2 separate regions of the Homo sapiens genome follow, and region 2 is linked to region 1. The links are contacts of gene promoters, found by promoter capture Hi-C in blood cells and fetal thymus (Javierre and others, 2016). All regions are on one chromosome and are shown on one strand. The core of a region is centred on a gene start or on the middle of the fragment in contact, and the rest is flanking DNA. Distances in the headings are between cores, read along the strand shown.

What was found. Contacts are between HindIII fragments. The CHiCAGO score rates a contact against its expected background, and 5 or more counts as called.
Region 2: a contact is called between a fragment that was not itself captured here and the fragment with the promoter of MED1 in region 1, in 1 of 17 cell types (M1 macrophages). The highest score is 5.0, in M1 macrophages.

Annotation. Positions count from the first base shown.
Region 1 is chr17:39,449,779-39,453,695 of GRCh38, forward strand. MED1 (mediator complex subunit 1) reads right to left here and starts at 1,485. Exons shown (of 17, transcript NM_004774.4): 1 at 1,260-1,485. The coding sequence starts at 1,284. The HindIII fragment of the contact is 4,305 bases long and covers 1-3,008 here.
Region 2 is chr17:39,259,624-39,263,432 of GRCh38, forward strand. It overlaps FBXL20 (F-box and leucine rich repeat protein 20), which reads right to left. Exons shown (of 15, transcript NM_032875.3): 15 at 1-1,944. The coding sequence ends at 1,837. Among named protein-coding and RNA genes, the nearest start is that of STAC2, 36 kb to the left of the region's middle. The HindIII fragment of the contact is 6,330 bases long and covers 1-3,809 here.

The DNA of each region.
Region 1 (3,917 bases), core at 235-2,734:
GGATTACAGGAGTGAGCCACCACACCCGGCCTTTTTTTTTTTTTTTTTTTTTTGAGACGAAGTTTCGCTCTTGTAGCCCAGGTAGGAATGCAATGGCGCAGTCTTGGCTCACCACAACCTCCACCTCCTGGGTTGAAGCAATCCTCCCACCTCAGCCTCCCAGGTAGCTGGGATTACAGGCATTCACCACCACGCCCGGCTAATTTTGTATTTCTAGTAGAGACGGGTTTTCTCCATGTTGGTCAGGCTGGTCTCGATCTCCCAACCTCAGGTGATCCACCCGCCTCAACCTCCCAAAGTGCTGGGATTACACGCGTGAGCCACAGTGCCCGGCAATTTTTTTATTTTTTTTGTAGAGACAGGGCCTCAGTATGTTGCCCAGGCTGGTCGCGAACTCCTGGGCTCCAGGGATCCTCCAGCCGCAGCCTCCCAAAGCGCTGGGATTACAGGTGTGAGTCACTGCTCCCGGCCTCACCTTTCGACCTCTGCTCCAAAACACACTCTTTGTTTTTCTTGAGAAACCTGCTGATAAATATCTGTACTTCGATGCTCCAACACTTTTTGAGCGACTATTACGTGCCAGAAACTATACAAAAATAATCAGGCAAGGACTCTAATCTGCAAAGCTCAGAGGAAACTGGAGAAGATAAACAATAACACAGTTCACTGTATCAACAGAACTATGCCCAAAATGCTAAGGCAGCATCTTAGCCGGAGTGTGGAACTTTAGAAAATCTTAGTAAAGTTCCACAGAAAAGTTGTTTTTCTGCAGTTCGTAGTTCGGTCAATAAAAGAACGAAATTCAGCGCACTTTAAAAATACACAATGGCACAGGATCTGAACACTTGACATTGTAGAGAACTGCTGGCTGCTAATAAATATAAGGACCTAATCATTTCATTGATGCCAAAATAGTCTCCAGTACGTTTACACACAGCCCTAAATTTATTCAGGCGTCTCTTCTGGAACGAGATGTAAGCTGATTTTGTATTCATTTGCCCCGTCTCCCACCACTTTAGGCCAAAAGTGCCCTAGTCGAGCATGAAATCTTCACAGAAGTTGAGAGTCCCCATCGCCCTAAAGTCGAAGCTCTATAATCACCAAGGAGGGTATAGTGACAATCTAAAACTAATACACATTCCCTCTCCTGGACTCTATGCCCCTAAAGTGGCCCCCATGGGACATCTGCAAGAACCTCCTCTCACAAACTGGCTCCCCCAGTTGTGTCCCGCCCCCTCCTTTCCCCTACAGTCACTTACCCTCGGTTTCCCCCTGAGCTTTCATCCTGAAGGCGAGGAGAAGCTAGATCCGCCACAAAAGGATAAGCCCTTCCCCACCACTAACGGAGGAAACAAGTTGGCTCGGGATCCCGGGACGCAGGGCACCAGCAGTCCCTACTCTTCCCGGGAAGGATCAATCTGAAGTCCCCGGCGGCAAGAAGAGAAGGGTGCTCGAGGCCGCCGCCATCTTCCCCAACGGAACTTCCCAAAATTCGCGAGATAAACCGTGGTCCTGCCAGAGAGAGGAAGAGGACAGGGCATCGAAATCTCGCGAATATTGGTCAATGCGTCGGCCTCGCGAGATTTCTTTCAGCGCAGTCTTCCCTTTGATCTGAGCTGTCTCAGGCCTCGCGCCGCTGGATATTAAACCTGCCGGCCGGTAGCTTTCGGCTCCCCTGCGGAAACCGCCATTTTTTTTTTATTTTAGCAGTTAAACAGCTCGCAAATTAAAATCTCCAGATCCCTGTACTGAAAGACTAGCTTTTCTTTTTTTTTTAATTTTTTTTTTTTTTTTTTTGAGATGGAGTCTTGCTCTTGTCGCCCAGGCTGGAGTGCAATGGCACGATGTCGGCTCACTGCAACCTCCGCCTCCCGGGTTCAAGCGATTCTCCTGCCTCAGCCTCCCGAGTAGCTGGGATTACAGGCACCCGCCACCACGCCCAGCTATTTTTAGTAGAGACGGGGTTTCGCCGTGTTGGCCAGGCTGGTCTCGAACTCCTGACCTCGCTGTCCGCCCGCCTCGGCCTCCCAAAGTGCTGGGATTACAGGCATGAGCCACCACACCCGGCCATGACTAGATTTTCAAAGGCTATTGGTATCAGGAGTGTCTTATGAAAGATAAGTTTAACCTGAGATACTAGATGCAATAATTACATCCTAAGAAAGATAGTGGCGCATTGTAACATGACGTTCAAAGCGAGCCTATAGCACAGTTAATTCCCCTTTTCTCATTTTTTTAGTTTCAAAACTATTTCTGGCTAGGCGCAGTGGCTCATGCCTGTAATCCCAGCACTTTGGGAGGCCAAGGTAGGTGGATCATCAGGTCAGGAGTTTGAGACCAGCCTGGCTAACATGGTAAAACTCCGTCTCTACGAAAAATACAAAAATTAGCCAGGTGTGGTGGTGCGCTCCTGTAATCCCAGCTACTCGGGAGGCTGAAGCAGGAGAATCTCTGGAACCCGTGAAGCGAAAGTTGCAGTGAGCAGAGATCGCGTCACTGCACTCCAACCTGGGTGACAGAGTGAGACTGTCTCAAAAAGAAAAAACTGTATCCTTTACTATCCTCAAACTAAGTGTTCTTCACTTAGTAAGCATCTGTGGAGTCCTAATATGTGTATATTTGGAGCTGCTAATACAAACATGAAAACACGGCTGGTCGCGGAGCTACTCAGGAGGCTGAAGCAGGAGAAGCGCTTGAACCTGGGAGGCAGAGGTTGCAGTGAGCCGAGATCATGCTACTGCACTCCAGCCTGGGTGGCAGAGCAAGACTCTGTCTCAGACAAATAAACAAACATGAAAACACAACCCTAGCGCTTGATAGGCTAATCTTATTTAGAGTTCCGAAAATATGATTGGTCACTATAATCATAGGGGCTCAAAATTTTTTCATTAATTATTATGCCCTAAGTACCAATGCCAGATACCCAACTACACTTTATCATGGAAACTCTATACAAATAAAAAAAAAAGTCTGTACTAAGTGTTGCTAGGAAATTTTTAACTTTATAAAGCTTATAAATAAACTTTACTAACTTCTGGTTACAGAATGGAATGAGAAGTTATCATTTGTCATCTGAAAATGCAGATGAGAGACACCATTGGAAAAGTTCTACTCTAGAAGATAAGAGAGCAATGTCCTTTGGGAGGCTGAGGCAGGTACTTGAGATCAGGAGGTCGAGACCAGCCTGGCCAAAATGGTGAAACCCCATTTCTACTAAAAATACAAAAAATTAGCCGGGTGTGGTGACACATGCCTGTAATCCCAGCTACTGGGGAGGCTGAGGCAGGAGAATCGCTTCAATCCGGGAAGTGGAGGTTGCAGTGAGCCAAGATCGTGTCATCGCACTCCAGTCTGGGCAATAAGAGCAAGACGGAGTCTGAAAAAAAAAAAGAAAGCCATGTCATTAAACAAGAAAAGTATTCAAGGTACATATAGGAACAGTATACATAGGAAAATGGGTACAATGGGCAAATTGTAAGTGACTAAGCTTTGAAGGAGGCGCCAAAGGACTCTTTTTTTTTTTTTTTTTTTTTTTTTTTTTTTGAGACAGTGTCTCGCTCTGTCGCCAAGGCTGGAGTGCAGTGGCACAATCTCGGCTCACTGCAACCCCCGCCTCCTGGGTTCAAGCAATTCTTCTGCCTCAGCCTCCCAAGTAGCTGGGACTACAGGTGTATGCCACACCACCCAGCTAATTTTTTTGTATTTTAGTAGAGACAGAGTTTCACTATGTTGCCCAGGCTGGTCTCGAACTTGAGCTCAGGCAATCCACCCACGTTGGCCTCCCAAAGTGTTACGATTACAGGCATGAGCCACTGTGCCCGGCCCAGAGGACTCTAAACCTAAAATCTAAACTAACAAATTGGTTTGTTGGGGAAAAAGAGCTATTGAAACTTTAGTTAAATATTTCTTCTTGTGTA
Region 2 (3,809 bases), core at 682-3,181, 190 kb before region 1:
CTTCCTCTCAGTGTTCTCTTTCAGCTGCCTCAATGCTTCACCTGGCTACATTCATACTTCATTCAGAAGTCTGAACAGGGCCGGGCATGGTGGCTCATGCCTGTAGTCCCAGCACTTTGGGAGGCTGAGGCAGGTGGATCATTTGAGGTCAGGAGTTCAAGACCAGGCTGGCCAACATGTGAAACCCCATCTCTACTAAAAATACAAAAATTAGCCAGGCAGTAGTGGTGCATGCCTGTAATCCCAGCTACTCGGTAGGCTGAGGCAAGAGAATCGCTTGAGCCTGGGAAGTGGAGGTTGCGGTGAGCCGAGATCGCACCACTGCACTCCAGTCTGGGCAAGAGTGAGAACCCGTCTTAAAAAAAAAAAAAAAAAAAAAAAAAGACTGGGGCAGAAAAGAGAGATGACTGACAGGTTATGGGAAGGTTCTGGCCCTTTGGGGTGCCAACACTAGATATGAATCCATTAACACTGACATACAATTGACCAGCTGTTATAGAGCCATTCTTGTATCCCTGAAAGGCTGAAATGGGGGAAAAGAGAGAAACAGACTGGCTAGAATACACAGCTCCTCTAGTGGCATTCCTGTTAAAACAACCTCATAGGTCAGAGATGCCACTGATCACTCCTAGATTTCAGTAAATATATAATAACATTAATCATTAATGTCTGAACTTGGGTGTTGGGGACTTTCAGGCTCTGTTTTGTGATTTATCATTTTCACTCTTTCCTAATAATACATCTCTCTCTTTCCTTATGATACAGTTGGTGGAGTCTGACAGAAGGAAGAATATGTAGGGGGAATATTGGGGATACCATGCGAATTATCACATATCAGAAGATAAAATAGAAACCAAAAGGTAGCATCTGTTTTCATCAAAACAGTTTCTTCTCATAACTTTTCTTGCTTTCATTAGAGTTTCCTTGCAGGTTGGCAAAGATTCAGGCAGGGTCCCCTAATGGTAAAATTTAGAATTAAAAAAATATTTATTGATAATATCTTTTTAAAAAATGTTTGGTAATCCCAACTAATCATTCAAAATGCAAACTGTAAACACGACAACAGCAAAAGGGTAACAATTGAGTGAGTAAGCAGACTGAACAGGTGACAGACTGAGCAAGAGTGTGGGGGGGAGCAACAGAGAATGTAAGACAGGTGCACAAGTGTGCTACAGACAGTGATAATTTGAGTGTGTAAGAATTACATTTGGACCACAGTGATTTCAAGGCAACCATTTAGGAAACCTCTGGGCCAAATACTAAAACACAGGAGGAATGGACGAGCCTTCTTTGTGAGCATGCTCAGCATGTTGGCATGGAAACAAGGAAGCATAGAAGCTCTTTAGTCACAATGAATGTCTACCATTTCTAAGATGCAAAGAAATTTTCTTTCTGGTCCCTGGGTACATCATATATTGTCTTTCCATGCTTTTCTTGACCCCGGAGGACAGCAGATGCTGTTCTAAAATCCCCAAAGAAACCCCTAGACAAAAATTTAAAAACCACAGTAGCATTAACACGGGGTTTGCTGGAATGCCCCTCCCTATCTTGGCCTATGATTTTCTTATGGGCACCTCAACAGGAATGGTTAAATTTTACCAATCTACTTGATAAAAAAGCCATCACAAACTTCAGTCCCATGGTCACAAAGCTAGAGTGGATGGGGGTAAGGGTGTGTATGTGTATGTATGTGTGGCTCTGGGGATCTGGACACTGCCCTCCCTCACTTTGTAACCCTTGCTCAGAACACTGGGGTTGCTTCCACTGGAGAGACTCCACGGTAGCTCTAGAAGTGTCATTAAATACTCAGTTCGCCAAGGTTGACCACCTCCATTGTCATAGGATGATGCAGCATCTGCAGAAGCGCTGTCTGCTGCCCCCTACTGATGGGGGTGGAGTGACAGGTGCGAAGTAGGCGTGGACTTTAATATTGGGTAAATGGGTCTGAAACAAGACAGAAACATTAAACGTTTAAGAGAGGGCTTAAACAGAAAGAGCAATGTTGGTTCTTAGAAAAACTACCGAGGGGCTCAATGAACATAAAAGCAGGGCAAAGGCTGAGCACTGGTCAGGATGTTAGAGGGCCTGGGTTCTACTTTGTTCCATCCTAGGTTGTTCTCAATGACCAGAACAACTCATATGACTTTGGTACCTGTTTGTGTAATAATAAAACTGAGGGCCGGGCGCGGTGGCTCACGCCTGTAATCCCTGCACTTTGGGAAGCCGAGACGGGCGGATCACGAGGTCAGGAGATTGAGACCATCCAGGCTAACATGGTGAAACCCCGTTTCTACTAAAAATACAAAGGCTAATTTTTGTATTGTTAGTAGAGACGGGGTTTCACCATGTTGGCCAGACTGGTCTCGAACTCCTGACCTCAAGTGGTCCGCCCAAGGATGGGAGATGGAAGAGACTCCTGGCAGCCAGGCAGTCTAGGAACCCTAATGTAAGTAGGCACGTAAGAGGCTCTGGTTGACCTGTGGCTCTCATTCTCTTTGGTGAAGAAAAAAAATGGCTGCAAGGCCACCCCCAGTGCAATTATGCTCACAGTCCTCTATGTCTGAAGAGGGGAAGAGGAACTGAGGCCAACTCGAACTCAAGATGAAGTTTGGTACTCTTTTATTTGCTCAAGGCCATGTGGCCAACGTGGATTTTTTAGAGGTTGGTATTTTTTTTGAGATAGAGTTTCATCTTGTTGCCCAGGCTGGAGTGCAATGGTGTGATCTTGGCTCACTGCAACCTCCGCCTCCTGGTTCAAGCGATTTTCCTGCCTCAGCCTCCTGAGCAGCTGGGATTACAGGCACCTGCCACCATGCTCGGCTAATTTTTGTATTTTTAGTTGAGATGGCATTTCGTCATGTTGACCAGGCTGGTCTTGAACTCCTGACTTCAGGTGATCCTCATGCCTCAGCTTCCCAAAGTGCTGGGATTACAGGCGTGAGCCACCGCGACTGGCCTAGAGGTTGGTATTAAGGGCCTGAATAAGCACACTGCCTTTCCTACAGCAGGTGTGAAGCAGATGTTCCAATAAACATCTGTTGAGCAGAACAATCTAACACACAGATTCATCCAGCTTTTTAAAACTTCTTTTTCGGCCGGGCGCAGTGGCTCATGCCTGTAATCCCAGCACTTTGGGAGGCTGAAGCGGGCGGATCACGAGGTCAGGAGGTCGAGACCATCCTGGCTAACACGGTGAAACTCTGCCTCTACTAAAAATACAAAAAGAAAATTAGCCGGGCGTGGTGGCATGCACCTGTAGTCCCAGCTACTGGGGAGGCTGAGTCAGGAGAATAGCGTGAACCTGGGAGGCAGAGCTTGCAGTGAGCCAAGATCATGCCACTGCGCTCCAGCCTGGGTGACAGAGCGAGACTCTGTCTCAAAAAAAAAGAACAAAAAACTTCTTTTTCTAGTTATTTGGCTATACCTGGGTCTCTCTATTATGGTGGATAGGTCCAAAAGCAAAGGTAAAAATCTGGGCCTGGCACAGTGACTCACACCTGTAATCCGAGCACTTTGGGAGGCTGAGGTGGGAGGATCGCTTGAGGCCAGGAATTTGAGACTAGCCTGGGAAACATAGCAAGACCTTGTCTCCACAAAATAGTTTTTTAAGGCCGGGCATGGTGGCTCACACCTATAATCCCAGCACTTCTGAAGGCCAAGGCAGGCAGATCGCTTGAGCTCAGGAGTTTGAAACCGGCCTGGGCAACATGGTAAAATGCCGTCTCTACCAAAAATACAAAAAATCAGGCTGGCGTGATGGCACACGCCTGTAGTCTCAGCTGTTGGGAGGCTGGGGTGGCAGGAAGCCT